Regions from separate parts of the Homo sapiens genome. Here all the other regions are linked to region 1. The links are contacts of gene promoters, found by promoter capture Hi-C in human tissues and cell types (Jung and others, 2019). All regions are on one chromosome and are shown on one strand. Each heading gives the region's core, a stretch centred on a gene start or on the middle of the fragment in contact. The rest is flanking DNA. Distances are from core to core; before and after follow the strand shown.

Evidence for each region. Contacts are between HindIII fragments. The study calls those that stand out against the background at their distance.
Region 2: the fragment with the promoter of HRAS here is called in contact with the fragment with the promoter of TALDO1 in region 1 in 4 of the 25 tissues and cell types used here (dorsolateral prefrontal cortex, heart left ventricle, lymphoblastoid cells and 1 more).
Region 3: a fragment that was not itself captured here is called in contact with the fragment with the promoter of TALDO1 in region 1 in 3 of the 25 tissues and cell types used here (dorsolateral prefrontal cortex, lymphoblastoid cells and spleen).
Region 4: the fragment with the promoter of AP2A2 here is called in contact with the fragment with the promoter of TALDO1 in region 1 in 1 of the 25 tissues and cell types used here (spleen).
Region 5: the fragment with the promoter of IRF7 here is called in contact with the fragment with the promoter of TALDO1 in region 1 in 9 of the 25 tissues and cell types used here (H1 embryonic stem cells, IMR-90 fibroblasts, adrenal gland and 6 more).

The regions. Positions count from the first base shown.
Region 1 is chr11:746,148-748,847 of GRCh38, reverse strand. It overlaps TALDO1 (transaldolase 1), which reads right to left and starts at 1,384. Exons shown (of 8, transcript NM_006755.2): 1 at 1,270-1,384. The coding sequence starts at 1,366. It overlaps LOC105376509 (a long non-coding RNA gene), which reads right to left. Exons shown (of 3, transcript XR_930962.3): 3 at 1,886-2,099. RefSeq lists silencers at 784-873, 974-1,263, 1,324-1,923 and enhancers at 1,103-1,751, 2,054-2,113, 1,752-2,400. The HindIII fragment of the contact is 22,782 bases long and covers 1-2,700 here.
Region 2 is chr11:534,126-536,825 of GRCh38, reverse strand. It overlaps HRAS (HRas proto-oncogene, GTPase), which reads left to right and starts at 1,250. Exons shown (of 6, transcript NM_005343.4): 1 at 1,250-1,410; 2 at 2,451-2,614. The coding sequence starts at 2,504. It also overlaps a transcript of LRRC56 not described here. RefSeq lists enhancers at 591-1,298, 1,320-2,176, 2,177-2,700 and a silencer at 2,154-2,313. The HindIII fragment of the contact is 24,710 bases long and covers 1-2,700 here.
Region 3 is chr11:907,033-909,732 of GRCh38, reverse strand. The region is part of intron 1 of CHID1 (chitinase domain containing 1); the gene reads left to right. Among named protein-coding and RNA genes, the nearest start is that of CHID1, 2.4 kb to the left of the region's middle. The HindIII fragment of the contact is 5,018 bases long and covers 1-2,700 here.
Region 4 is chr11:924,479-927,178 of GRCh38, reverse strand. It overlaps AP2A2 (adaptor related protein complex 2 subunit alpha 2), which reads right to left and starts at 1,309. Exons shown (of 22, transcript NM_012305.4): 1 at 1,091-1,309. The coding sequence starts at 1,157. RefSeq lists a silencer at 958-1,497. The HindIII fragment of the contact is 16,179 bases long and covers 1-2,700 here.
Region 5 is chr11:614,674-617,199 of GRCh38, reverse strand. IRF7 (interferon regulatory factor 7) reads left to right here and starts at 1,250. Exons shown (of 11, transcript NM_001572.5): 1 at 1,250-1,287; 2 at 1,553-1,855; 3 at 1,941-2,103; 4 at 2,193-2,403. The coding sequence starts at 1,836. CDHR5 (cadherin related family member 5) reads left to right here. Exons shown (of 15, transcript NM_021924.5): 15 at 1-617. RefSeq lists an enhancer at 1,794-2,388. The HindIII fragment of the contact is 18,510 bases long and covers 1-2,526 here.

The DNA of each region.
Region 1 (2,700 bases), core at 135-2,634:
GCTTTCTTTCTTATGAAGAGAGGTCTGGACTACAACGGGGGGGCTGTGTGTGTGAGGGATTCACAGCTCTAGCTTTGGATCTCCCAAAGAGGGGTCCGGAGCAGACTGTGGCACCCCAAGCCAGTCACTGAATCCCCATATTTTATGGTTAAGCAGCCAAACATGCCAATTCACTCTCTAGGCTCTGCTAGATAAACAATGCCCTTACTCAGTTACCAAAGAGGAATTAAAGCCTGTTTCTCAAGTCACCATGAGAAAGCAGAAAAGAGAGGAAGTCACTTCCGTATTAGGTGCTCGCAGCATTCATCCATGAAGCGTTTCATGATTTTCTTAAAAAATATTACTTGTTCTCAACAAAACATAGACACAAGGCTCGTCTACTCTGCACTGCAGAGGACAGAAGAGCTAAGTATTAATAAATAATCCTTCTTTGTATTTTCCAAGTTCTCTCCAATGTAAACAACTCAAGCCCAGGAAAATCCAGTATTTAACAGTGTACCAACCCTGTGCTTTCATGGGCACCGGCTTTTACCCACCCGGTGCGTCTGGCGGTGGCTGTCCAGCAGGCCGGGCACCTGCCGCCCACGGAGTTGTCCCACTGGGCACCGCAGGGCTCAAGGGCGATGGCAGCACTGGCAGCTTCTGGTCAGAGCTAGCTGATGTCCCCGCTCTGCAGACATCAGCCCAACAAAATTGCATCTCGCTGACCACAAACTGGCCACGTGGAAGTCAGCTCGAAGCTCTACCCTGAATCTCTCCTGAACTCAAAGGCTCTGAAAGCTGCCTCGACCCATGAAGGTGCACAGAGGGGCTCCCGCGGGCTGCCCACAGCCCGTCCCGGGTGCGGGGTCTGAGGGCGCAGCCGACCCCACCCTGGGCGGAGGGCGAGGCTGGGGCTCCGGCTTCGTGCCCCACGGCTCGCAAGGACCCGTCAGTACCGCCCGCACCGCTGACCCCAGCACCGAGCCCCTCACGGCTGACCCCAGCTCCTCACGGCTGCCCCCGGCCCTGCTCCCTCACGGCCGACCCGGGCCCCGTTCCCCTCACGGTCGCCGCTGGCCCTGCGCCTCTCACGGCCGACCCGGGCCCCGCTCCCCTCACGGCTGTCCCTGGCCCCAACATCCGGCACCTGCGCTCATTCCTCCCGGAACGAGCCGCCCGGGGCACCGCCACCCGGTCCGCGTCCCGGAACGGGAGACCCGGGGAAATCGGGGCGCCGGGGCCTCTGGAGGGCGCTTGCGCCGCGCCCGGGCTCCGCGCCGTCCTCACCGTGGAAGTCGCCCGTGTCGGCCACCACGGTGGTGAACTGCTTGAGCTGGTCCAGCGCGGACTCCATCCTCTGACGCTTCACGGGTGAGCTCGACATAGCAAGACCGAGGGGTCTGCGGCGGCGGCGGCGGCGACGGGACGGGCGCGCGGACGGCCCACAATGCCCCGCGGGCGGCTGCCAATCGGAAAGCGGCGCGGGAGGGCGAGGCCCGCTGGTCCCTGCGCGCCTGGACGAAGCCCCGCCCCCGGGGACGAAGCCCGAGCGCCACTGCCGGCCGCGCACCGCAGCTGCGGATCCTACAGGCTGGGTCTCCCCAGGTCCTCAGCAGCCGCCGCGGACGGGCCCGGGAAAACACCTGCACGACACGGGGCGGCTGGGCCTCGCCTCCTTCCTGCCCCGCGGGACGCACCGGGAGGGCTGGAGGAGATGGACCTGGCCCGGGTGCCGACTCTGCGGGGCTGAACCCGCCAGGGCCGAACCCGGCGATGCAGGATCCATGGTGGGGCCAGGACTGGGGTCGGGGGCCGCTGCAGGAAGCAGGGGAGGGAGCGGCGGGGGACGCCCTGCGGGTGCAGGAGGCAGAGCAGGGGGCGGCTGCAGAGCCCGGGCGCCGGACGCGGCGGGGAACCTGCTTCTGGGAATCTGTTCCCCTGAGTCCTAAGCCCAGAGGTGTCCGGGGGACCGAACGGCGAGGCAGGCGTAGGAGGCCCAGCTGCCCTGCTTCTTACCATCGCTGACTTGCAGAGTTCCTTGTATATTCTGATCAAGTCTCTGTCGCTTGTGTCTGCGTTGCAGACACTGTAACCGCCCCATGGGTTCGCCTTGCCAGCTGCCGGGACAGAGTCTATTGTCAAGACAGGGGAATTGCAATAGAGAAAGCATAATTCACACAGAGCCGATTGTTCGGGAGACCAGAGTTTTATTCCTCAAATCAGTCTCCCCAAAACTCGGGGATCCCAGTATTTAAGAATAATTTGGTGGGTAGGGGGCCAGTGAGTCAGAAGTGCTGACTGGTCAGCTAGGGATGAAATCACAGGGAGTCGAAGCTGTCCGCTTATGCTGAGTCAGTCCCTGGGTAGAGGCCACACAACTGGTTGGCAGGTCCAGGTGGGGCCATCCGGTTGTCAGAAATGCAAAAACCTGAAAAGACTTTTTTTTTTTTTTGAGACGGAATCTCGCCCTTGTTGCCCAGGCTGGAGTGCAGTGGCGCGATCTTGGCTAACTACAACCTCCGCCTCCCGGGTTCGAGCGATTTTCCTGCCTCAGCCTCCCGAGTAGCTGGAATTACAGGCGCTCACCACCACGCCCGGCTAATTTTTGTATTTTTAGTACAGACGGGGTTTCATCATGTTGGCCAGCATGGTCTCGATCTCCTGACCTCGTGATCCGCCCACCTCAGTCTCCCAAAGTGCTGGGATTCCAGGCGTGAG
Region 2 (2,700 bases), core at 1-2,500, 210 kb after region 1:
AGGCGGGCGCTGGACTGGGCAGAGGCAGGGTTTGCCTGACTGTAAAACGCCTTTTTTGTTTTGAGACGAAGTAGCGCTCTGTTGCCCAGTGCAGTGGCGCGATTTCGGCTCACCGCAACATCCGCCTCCCGGGTTCCAGCGATTCTCCTGCCTCAGCCTCCCGAGTAGCTGGGACTACAGGCGCGCGCCACTGCAGCCGACTAATTTTTTGTGTTTTTAGTAGAGACAGGGTTTCATCATGTTGGCCAGGCTGGTCTTGAACTCCTGACCTCAAGTAATCCACCCGCTTAGGCCTCCCGAAGTGCTGGGATTATAGGCGTGAGCCACCGCGCCCGGCCCTTTTTGTTTTTTAATGAGGATGTATTTCTGATTCCTTTGCAATTTTAAAAAATGTTAAAAACATGTCTTTTTGGGTTTGAAAGAGCTAGGATGTGCGTCTATGTGCTTGGGGTGAGCCCTGGGCACTTCGCTCCCCTGTGGCAACTTGTGGGTACGGTTTAACTGGACCACGCTGAGCTTCTGCAGCGTTGGAACCTCAAGTTTGGGGGGACTGGGCGGGCAGGGTCGCCTGCCACGCAGGCCCGAGAAAGAGGAGAGTGGTGGAGGGGGCGTTCTCACGCCTGGCCCCAGGGCACACGGCTGCGCCCGCCGCCCGGAACCCCACCGGGGCTGCAAGCGTCCTCGGGGTGGGTTGCGGTGGGAGTAGGGGAGCTGGGGTGCGTGGTGGTAGGTGGGGTGCGCGGCCGCTCCACCTGCGCGGAAGGGCAGCCGGGCAACCGGACCCCGCGGCCACCCGGGGGCCCCCAGCTCCGAGCATCCCGCCTTGGTCCCGGCGGATCCCAGCCTTTCCCCAGCCCGTAGCCCCGGGACCTCCGCGGTGGGCGGCGCCGCGCTGCCGGCGCAGGGAGGGCCTCTGGTGCACCGGCACCGCTGAGTCGGGTTCTCTCGCCGGCCTGTTCCCGGGAGAGCCCGGGGCCCTGCTCGGAGATGCCGCCCCGGGCCCCCAGACACCGGCTCCCTGGCCTTCCTCGAGCAACCCCGAGCTCGGCTCCGGTCTCCAGCCAAGCCCAACCCCGAGAGGCCGCGGCCCTACTGGCTCCGCCTCCCGCGTTGCTCCCGGAAGCCCCGCCCGACCGCGGCTCCTGACAGACGGGCCGCTCAGCCAACCGGGGTGGGGCGGGGCCCGATGGCGCGCAGCCAATGGTAGGCCGCGCCTGGCAGACGGACGGGCGCGGGGCGGGGCGTGCGCAGGCCCGCCCGAGTCTCCGCCGCCCGTGCCCTGCGCCCGCAACCCGAGCCGCACCCGCCGCGGACGGAGCCCATGCGCGGGGCGAACCGCGCGCCCCCGCCCCCGCCCCGCCCCGGCCTCGGCCCCGGCCCTGGCCCCGGGGGCAGTCGCGCCTGTGAACGGTGAGTGCGGGCAGGGATCGGCCGGGCCGCGCGCCCTCCTCGCCCCCAGGCGGCAGCAATACGCGCGGCGCGGGCCGGGGGCGCGGGGCCGGCGGGCGTAAGCGGCGGCGGCGGCGGCGGCGGCGGGTGGGTGGGGCCGGGCGGGGCCCGCGGGCACAGGTGAGCGGGCGTCGGGGGCTGCGGCGGGCGGGGGCCCCTTCCTCCCTGGGGCCTGCGGGAATCCGGGCCCCACCCGTGGCCTCGCGCTGGGCACGGTCCCCACGCCGGCGTACCCGGGAGCCTCGGGCCCGGCGCCCTCACACCCGGGGGCGTCTGGGAGGAGGCGGCCGCGGCCACGGCACGCCCGGGCACCCCCGATTCAGCATCACAGGTCGCGGACCAGGCCGGGGGCCTCAGCCCCAGTGCCTTTTCCCTCTCCGGGTCTCCCGCGCCGCTTCTCGGCCCCTTCCTGTCGCTCAGTCCCTGCTTCCCAGGAGCTCCTCTGTCTTCTCCAGCTTTCTGTGGCTGAAAGATGCCCCCGGTTCCCCGCCGGGGGTGCGGGGCGCTGCCCGGGTCTGCCCTCCCCTCGGCGGCGCCTAGTACGCAGTAGGCGCTCAGCAAATACTTGTCGGAGGCACCAGCGCCGCGGGGCCTGCAGGCTGGCACTAGCCTGCCCGGGCACGCCGTGGCGCGCTCCGCCGTGGCCAGACCTGTTCTGGAGGACGGTAACCTCAGCCCTCGGGCGCCTCCCTTTAGCCTTTCTGCCGACCCAGCAGCTTCTAATTTGGGTGCGTGGTTGAGAGCGCTCAGCTGTCAGCCCTGCCTTTGAGGGCTGGGTCCCTTTTCCCATCACTGGGTCATTAAGAGCAAGTGGGGGCGAGGCGACAGCCCTCCCGCACGCTGGGTTGCAGCTGCACAGGTAGGCACGCTGCAGTCCTTGCTGCCTGGCGTTGGGGCCCAGGGACCGCTGTGGGTTTGCCCTTCAGATGGCCCTGCCAGCAGCTGCCCTGTGGGGCCTGGGGCTGGGCCTGGGCCTGGCTGAGCAGGGCCCTCCTTGGCAGGTGGGGCAGGAGACCCTGTAGGAGGACCCCGGGCCGCAGGCCCCTGAGGAGCGATGACGGAATATAAGCTGGTGGTGGTGGGCGCCGGCGGTGTGGGCAAGAGTGCGCTGACCATCCAGCTGATCCAGAACCATTTTGTGGACGAATACGACCCCACTATAGAGGTGAGCCTGGCGCCGCCGTCCAGGTGCCAGCAGCTGCTGCGGGCGAGCCCAGGACACAGCCAGGATAGGGCTGGCTGCAGCCCCTG
Region 3 (2,700 bases), core at 64-2,563, 160 kb before region 1:
GCCATGCACCAGTTAGTTCTTCAAAACACAACAGAACAGGAGTTGTCAGTGCGTCCATCGCAGAATAGAGTTAGCTCTGATTGGCTGCTGTCGCTCTACACATGTACACACATGCACAACACATGTGCACACATGACATACACGTGTGCTGGGCTGTGACGTAAAGTGCATTTCTTACTGCTGGTCTCCATGAAAAGCATTGGAAAGCCCCTGCTGTGACTCCCATCATTTCCATCAACACCACCGAGGAGGTCCTGGACCTACGGACTGGGAGCGCAGGAAAGTGGGAGCAGTAGCGCTCCACCTTATCTTGTTACAGAGCGGTTTCTGGGACCCCTTTGGGTGACCAGGGTCGGGGCCTGTGCCTCTTCATAACACAACACATTCCCTTTGTGTGCGGGGCCGTTCTGCCCAAGGGAAGGTCATTGGCATTTGGGGAAGAAACGGTTTGATGCAGGAACACAGTGTGTGTGAACCTGGGAGTCTGTGTTATGTGAAGAGCATGATGGAGAGTGTCCTCACGGGCCTCAGAGCCGAGCGGCCGGTGAGCAGTGGGGAGCGGGAGAGGTACCAAAGCCCAGACAAGGGCCTGGTTGCAGTGTGAGCACCCCTCACACATCACACACACCATCTCCCTGGGGCAGTTGTCTGGAAAGTTCCATGGCAAGTCAAAGAAGCAGCCCAGCATTTGTGAGCAGCCTGTATCCAAGCACTCCATCACAGAGCGGGCAAGTTAAGCGCGAGTGGACAGAGGCAGTACCCTGGCCTTGTGTTCAGTTAGGTTCTCCTAGTGTCCCCTCTGCTGGACACATGCTGGCAGGACTGTCTTCCTCTTCCACCCTTTCCTCTTCCTTCCCTGAAGTGTGAAATCACAGGTTGGGGGGCAGGGAGGTCATAGGCAGAGGGGCCACTAGGTGGGTGGACAGTGGCCCTGTTTCAAATCTGCAGGACGGCAGGTAGGGGCAGAGACCCAGCCCTATAGTGGTTGGTCACTGGGTACCTGAGTGTGCCCTCCAGTTACTCCTGGGCCAGTCCCCTGGAGAACCACCGTTTGGTTTTTCATTCCTTTCCTTCCTCCCTGACCCAGATTTCCACCCAGAAGACAGAGAAGGAGCCAGTGGTCATGGAATGGGCTGGGGTCAAAGACTGGGTGCCTGGGAGCTGAGGCAGCCACCGTTTCAGCCTGGCCAGGCAAGTGATTCTGGGCCGTCTTCCCTGTGCCATGGCCAGAACCCTCCCCACCTTCCCTGGGGCTGTTGCTGACTCAGACCAAGCCTCAGCTGCAGCAGAAAGATAGTGGGGCTAAGGGGAGGTGGCAGCAGGCTGCTGCCCTTGGTTCTGATTCTGGGATGTATCACTGAGGAGAGGGGCTGGAGAGGTTGATCGGGGCAGAGGGTGGTGATCTGTGCCTGGGCCTTCTTATTCCCCCTGCACAGCCTCTCGGAACTGCCGTGGCTGTTCAAGCACTCACTGCCTTTGCCTGTGGCTCCATGTACTGGGTGCTGCTGTGCTTGCCCTGTGAGTTCCCTTCCTAACTCCCCATAAGCCTGCAGGTCAGGCTGTCTTGTGGCTCCCTGCCTCCTAGGTGGGGGAGCTTCACTGGTTGATCTTGCTCCAGGAGCGTGTTCTTTCTATGCAGGTGTGTTGTGGGTGTATTGGGTACCAAAGCATGCAAACTCCCTGCCTGGGGGTAGCCACAGTCTCCTCAGTCTGCACCAGGAGCACCAGTCTCACCCAGGGAAGAGACAGGGCAAAGTGGGGCAGCGTGTGCCTCTGCAGAAGAAAGCAGGTCAAGGGGACGGTTTCAGAGGAAGTGAAAACAGGTTCCTGGCCAGGGAGTCTTTTGGGTAGGAGGGTAGGCACTGTGGTAGGCCTGGCTCTGGCAGCATCTTCTGACAGGTGCACCTGCCTGGCTGGGGTTCCTGGAGCCTCTTGGGCCTGAGCTCCCATATACTCAGGAGCCTGTGACCCAAGGGGAAGGCCATGTGCCCAGCTGCTGGGTAGTGAGTTGGGCTGAGCTCCCCACCTGTCAGGTATCTGCCTCTGCCCAGGCTGTGTGGGCCTCTCAGCTGGTCTAGAGGGGTCTGTGCTGCCAGAGCTGTGAAACTAGCCAAGAGCTTCTTCCCAGCAGTGTCCCAAAGCTTCATGAAGGACTAACAGTCTGGCTGGGCTATGGTGGTGGTTCAGCTCCCACCGCCGCTGCCCCCAACCCCAGTGAAAGATAGAAAGTAGAATCACTTTTTTTTTTTTTTTAAAGACAGTCTCGCACCGTCGCCCAGGCTGGAGTGCACTGGCACTATCTCGGCTCACTGCGAACTCCACCTCCTGGATTCACACCATTCTCCTGCTTCAGCCTCTCGAATAGCTGGGACTACAGGCGCCTGCCACCATGCCTGGCTAATTTTTTGTATTTTTAGCAGAGATGGGGTTTCACCGTGTTAGCCAGGATGGTCTCGATCTCCTGACCTCGTGATCTGCCCGCTTCGGCCTCCCAAAGTGCTGGGATTACAGGCGTGAGCCACCGCGCCCGGCCGGAAAGTAGAATCACTTTTGTTGGTGGCCCCTAGAACCTGAAAGTGAACAGTGTAATAAAAGTTTAGTGCAGGAAGACCAGAAGATACAGATAAAGTAAAAGAGAAGAAACAATGACCAGTAATTCCAGATAGCCTGCTCATTTATTTTTTGTTTTGTTTCTTTGTT
Region 4 (2,700 bases), core at 60-2,559, 180 kb before region 1:
GCTGAGGTGGTAGGATCACTTGAGGTGGGAGGTTGAGTGCGCCGTGATGGAACTACTGCGCTCCAGCCTGAGAGCCAGAGCAAGACCCTGTCTCAAAAAAAAGAAAAACAAAAATCATGAAGTCAACTATTTGCTGGATAACAAGGAAAAAAATCAACGCAGCAGACAGGAAACTGGCTTTGTTTCTCCCTCAAATTAAATAAGGAGATGGCCTCTGAAAGCCAAGAGGAGGTTCTGCACACCAAAGTCAAATTAATTGGTGGACCGGTGCACCCACCCAGCCACCCTGCACATCCTTCTAACAGGCCCAGCCTTCCTGGCTTGTTTAACGGTTTGGTGTGGATTTTTCCCACCCCGAGGGGACAGGCACGGGGCTGAGAACGAGGTCTGTGATTGGAGCAGCAGGCAGCGAGGCCATCCCACACCCCGACTGCTGCTCGTGTCCAGATTCCCTCCGGGAATGAGTCATTTTAATCGTCGTAGGTGAGATCTAATCAGGGGTTAATAAGCCTCCAGAACCCAGGTCACAAAGCTGTTTCCTGGGAAGACACTGATTTCCAGATTTCTGCTCCCAAAGCTAAAATCCACGCCGTTTTGGAAAACGCTGGGTTAAACGCTCCAGTACTAGAAAGACCAAGGTGACATCATGCTGGGGAGGGGCGTCTTGGCCCGGAACCCCCTTGGTGGTGCCGCAGCCCCCCGCACGGACCAGCAAACGGGAGTGGAGATGTGGATGAAGGGCCGTGCCCTAAACCCCTAGACCCCGCACCCCTAGACCCTGGACACCCCACCCCGCACCCCCAGACCCAGGGCCCCGCTCTGCATCCTGACCCGCACCCCCATACCCGATACCCCAAGACTCTGAGCGCCGCCCGCACCCCCAGACCCTGGACCCCCACCCCGCACCCTGGCCCCCACCCCCAGACCCGGTACCCCAAGACCCCGAGCGCCGCCCGCACCCTCAGGCCCCGGGCCCCGCCCGCATCCCAGCCTGCACCCCCGCCTCGAGGCCCCGCCCCGGGCCTCCGCTCCCAGACCCCGTCTCCGCCGGCGGCCCCGGCCCCGGCCCCACGCCGCCCCCGCCACTCACAGTTGCGGATATCCGAGATGAAGACCGCCAGGCCCCGCATCCCGTCCCCCTTGGACACGGCCGGCATCTTCCGACGCTCGGGAGCGGCCTCGGCTGGCGGACCCGGGCGGAGGAGCGCGGGGAGCGGGAAGCGGGGAGTGCGGTCGCCGTCACCGCCGCGGAGGAGCCGCCGGGGAGCCGCCTAACCACGGCCGCCTCAGGGTCCCAGCGCCGCTTTCTGGGCCGCCGCGCGCGCGCACGTACGGCGCCCGCACCAGCACGCACGCGCACGCACGCGAGCGACGACGGACGGCGGCCGGGGCGGGTGTCGCGTGAGGCAGCGCGCGCGCGTCCGCGGCACGGGGGCGAGCCGGTCGAGGCAGGCGCGGGGGCGCCCCCTGCAGGCGGACACCATGGACGGAGCCGCTGAAGCCACGCGTTCGCGTCCCGGGGCCGCGCCAAGCTGGCGATGCCGCCCGCGTCCCCCACGGGAAGGGCGTGGGTCCGGGCGGGAACCCGCGTGTGCAGCGGGCCGCCTCTGTCGTTGTTGGTGGTCACTGCAAAAGAGGCGGCCACGCAGGCACACGCGTACGGCCTCGTCCTGGGCCTCGGCCCCGCTAGCTTGCCCCGAGCAGTCTCCGTTTTCTTACTTGGAATAAACGACCTGTGAGCGCTGGGCGGCGGGGCAGCTCCGAGGCCAGGGCCTTGTTTGTTCCGCGGGGGCCGGGGCGGGAGGGCGGCGCCGGGAGGAAGCTGGGGCTCCAGGCGAAGGGGTCACAGCCGCTGGACGGCCTTTGGCGAGGAAACCCTCCCCTAGCACGGTATCCTGAGACGGTGGGGCTGGCCCGCCCCTCCTGCCGCCCTGAGCCGCCAGGGCCACATCTCTTGCGGTCCCTGAGCTGGGGGCGAGGCAGGCCCCGTGCCCGACCCAGCCCAGGGTCTGTGTGGCAGCCCAGGTGCCCCCTCCACATCACCTGGGCCTGCAGAGAAACAACCACCCACCCCACCCCAGTGACAGCGGCCGGGGGCGGCAGCCCCTGCGGAATCTAGTCCCTCGGCGGCGCCAGGACTTTTGGCCACTGTTGCCAGGGCCCCCTCTGCTCCCCAGCCCTCTGCACCACTGCAAGCTGGAGGCCTAGGCCCACCCCTGTGGACACATCGCAAGGGAGGACCTGCTGGGCCAGGCTGCACAGCTCCAGGTCCCGGCCAGGAAGAGACCCCAGGGAGTGGGGAAGCAGATGGCCCTGCCTCACTGTCCTTCCCAGAGCCAGATGGCTTTGAACAGGAAGCTCCCTCCTGCTGCAGTGGGGGGATCTGGACCCTGTACCTGGAACTGGCCCAGACCCACCAGCCAGGGCTTTGTCCCCACCCTGGCTCACTTCCGCAGCCCCAGATGAGAGCTTAGCCCTGGTGGAGCCCGGCCAGGAGGAGGGCACAGGACCCATGCCCCTCCCCAATGAACCGGGTGCCGCACCCAGGCTCTGGGCCTCCAGAACTCCTGGGGAAAACCAAGATCTGTGACAGACCCCAGTCAGCATAAGGCAACCAAGTCCATCACTTCCCAAGACAGAGGCACGGAGCCGACCCAGCAGAGGGCTTCCTGGAGGACGGTACACCCCTCCGGAGTCCCT
Region 5 (2,526 bases), core at 1-2,500, 130 kb after region 1:
CCCCTGTCGTCATTAGCGCTTGAGCCCAGGTGTGCAGATGAGGCGGTGGGTCTGGCCACGCTGTCCCCACCCCAAGGCTGCAGCACTTCCCGTAAACCACCTGCAGTGCCCGCCGCCTTCCCGAGGCTCTGTGCCAGCTAGTCTGGGAAGTTCCTCTCCCGCTCTAACCACAGCCCGAGGGGGGCTCCCCTCCCCCGACCTGCACCGGAGATCTCAGGCACCCGGCTCATCTCAGACCTCCCGCTCCCGACCCTACACAGAGATTGCCTGGGGAGGCTGAGGAGCCGATGCAAACCCCCAAGGCGACGCACTTGGGAGCCGGTGGTCTCAAACACCTGCCGGGGGTCCTAGTCCCCTTCTGAAATCTACATGCTTGGGTTGGAGCGCAGCAGTAAACACCCTGCCCAGTGACCTGGACTGAGGCGCGCTGGGGGTGGGTGCGCCGTGTGGCCTGAGCAGGAGCCAGACCAGGAGGCCTAGGGGTGAGAGACACATTCCCCTCGCTGCTCCCAAAGCCAGAGCCCAGGCTGGGCGCCCATGCCCAGAACCATCAAGGGATCCCTTGCGGCTTGTCAGCACTTTCCCTAATGGAAATACACCATTAATTCCTTTCCAAATGTTTTAATTGTGAGAGTATCTGATATTCTTGACTGAACAATGTAAAAAACCCAAAGGGGGCTGCGCACGGCGGCTCTCGCCTAAATCCCAGCACTTTGGGAGGCCGAGGTGGGCAGATCACCTGAGGTCGGGAGTTCGACACCAGCCTGACCAACATAGAGAAACCCCGTCTCTACTAAAAATACAAAATTAGCCGGGCGTGGTGGTTCATGCCTGTAATCCCAGCTACTCGGGAGGCTTAGGTAGGAGAATCACTTGAACCCGGGAGGCGGAGGTTGTGGTGGGCCAAGATTGTGCCACCGCACTCCAGCCTGGGTAACAAAAGCGAAACTCCATCTCAAAAAAAGAAACGCAAACGGTGCAGCTGCCCCTTTTTCGAGGCACGTCCACCTCCCATTACCCACTTCCTTTTTTTTTTGAGACTGAGTCTTGCTCTGTCCCCTGGGCTGTAGTGGAGTGGCTCCATCTCGGCTCACTGCAGCCACTCCCAACGCCCTCCACTCCTCCCTACTCCGCGCTGGCCGGGGCGGGGTTCCGCTGGTCGCATCCAATAATAAGAACAGGCGGCGCGCGCCCTTCCCGGAAACTCCCGCCTGGCCACCATAAAAGCGCCGGCCCTCCGCTTCCCCGCGAGACGAAACTTCCCGTCCCGGCGGCTCTGGCACCCAGGTACTGGGGACCCCAGACCCACGCGGTGCAGGCCGGGAGCGAGAGCCTCCGTGGGGGCTCCGTGACCCCGGAGGGGTAGAGCCAAGAGCTGGGGGAGCCTGAGAGATGAGGGTCGGGCGGGGAGGGAGGCGGAGGCGGAGGCGGGGTTCCGCGGAGCTGAGAACCGGACGGGGTGGGATCGAGGAGGGTGCGAAGCGCCACTGTTTAGGTTTCGCTTTCCCGGGAGCCTGACCCGCCCCTGACGTCGCCTTTCCCGTCTCCGCAGGGTCCGGCCTGCGCCTTCCCGCCAGGCCTGGACACTGGTTCAACACCTGTGACTTCATGTGTGCGCGCCGGCCACACCTGCAGTCACACCTGTAGCCCCCTCTGCCAAGAGATCCATACCGAGGCAGCGTCGGTGGCTACAAGCCCTCAGTCCACACCTGTGGACACCTGTGACACCTGGCCACACGACCTGTGGCCGCGGCCTGGCGTCTGCTGCGACAGGAGCCCTTACCTCCCCTGTTATAACACCTGACCGCCACCTAACTGCCCCTGCAGAAGGAGCAATGGCCTTGGCTCCTGAGAGGTAAGAGCCCGGCCCACCCTCTCCAGATGCCAGTCCCCGAGCGCCCTGCAGCCGGCCCTGACTCTCCGCGGCCGGGCACCCGCAGGGCAGCCCCACGCGTGCTGTTCGGAGAGTGGCTCCTTGGAGAGATCAGCAGCGGCTGCTATGAGGGGCTGCAGTGGCTGGACGAGGCCCGCACCTGTTTCCGCGTGCCCTGGAAGCACTTCGCGCGCAAGGACCTGAGCGAGGCCGACGCGCGCATCTTCAAGGTGGGGACCCCAGCCCCGCCCCGCCCCGGGTGGGAGAGCCCGCCTAGGACCCCGCGGGCCCGGCACACGTGTTCTGTCCCCCTCTTCAGGCCTGGGCTGTGGCCCGCGGCAGGTGGCCGCCTAGCAGCAGGGGAGGTGGCCCGCCCCCCGAGGCTGAGACTGCGGAGCGCGCCGGCTGGAAAACCAACTTCCGCTGCGCACTGCGCAGCACGCGTCGCTTCGTGATGCTGCGGGATAACTCGGGGGACCCGGCCGACCCGCACAAGGTGTACGCGCTCAGCCGGGAGCTGTGCTGGCGAGGTGAGCGACGCCGGCTGCCAAGGGCGTTGGCATTCGTCCTGCTTGGGCAAAGGGGAACATTCTCTGGGTCAGATTTGTGGTTTTAGAAGCTGTTCTGGGAGAGGCTGCCAGCAGGCCCAGGAC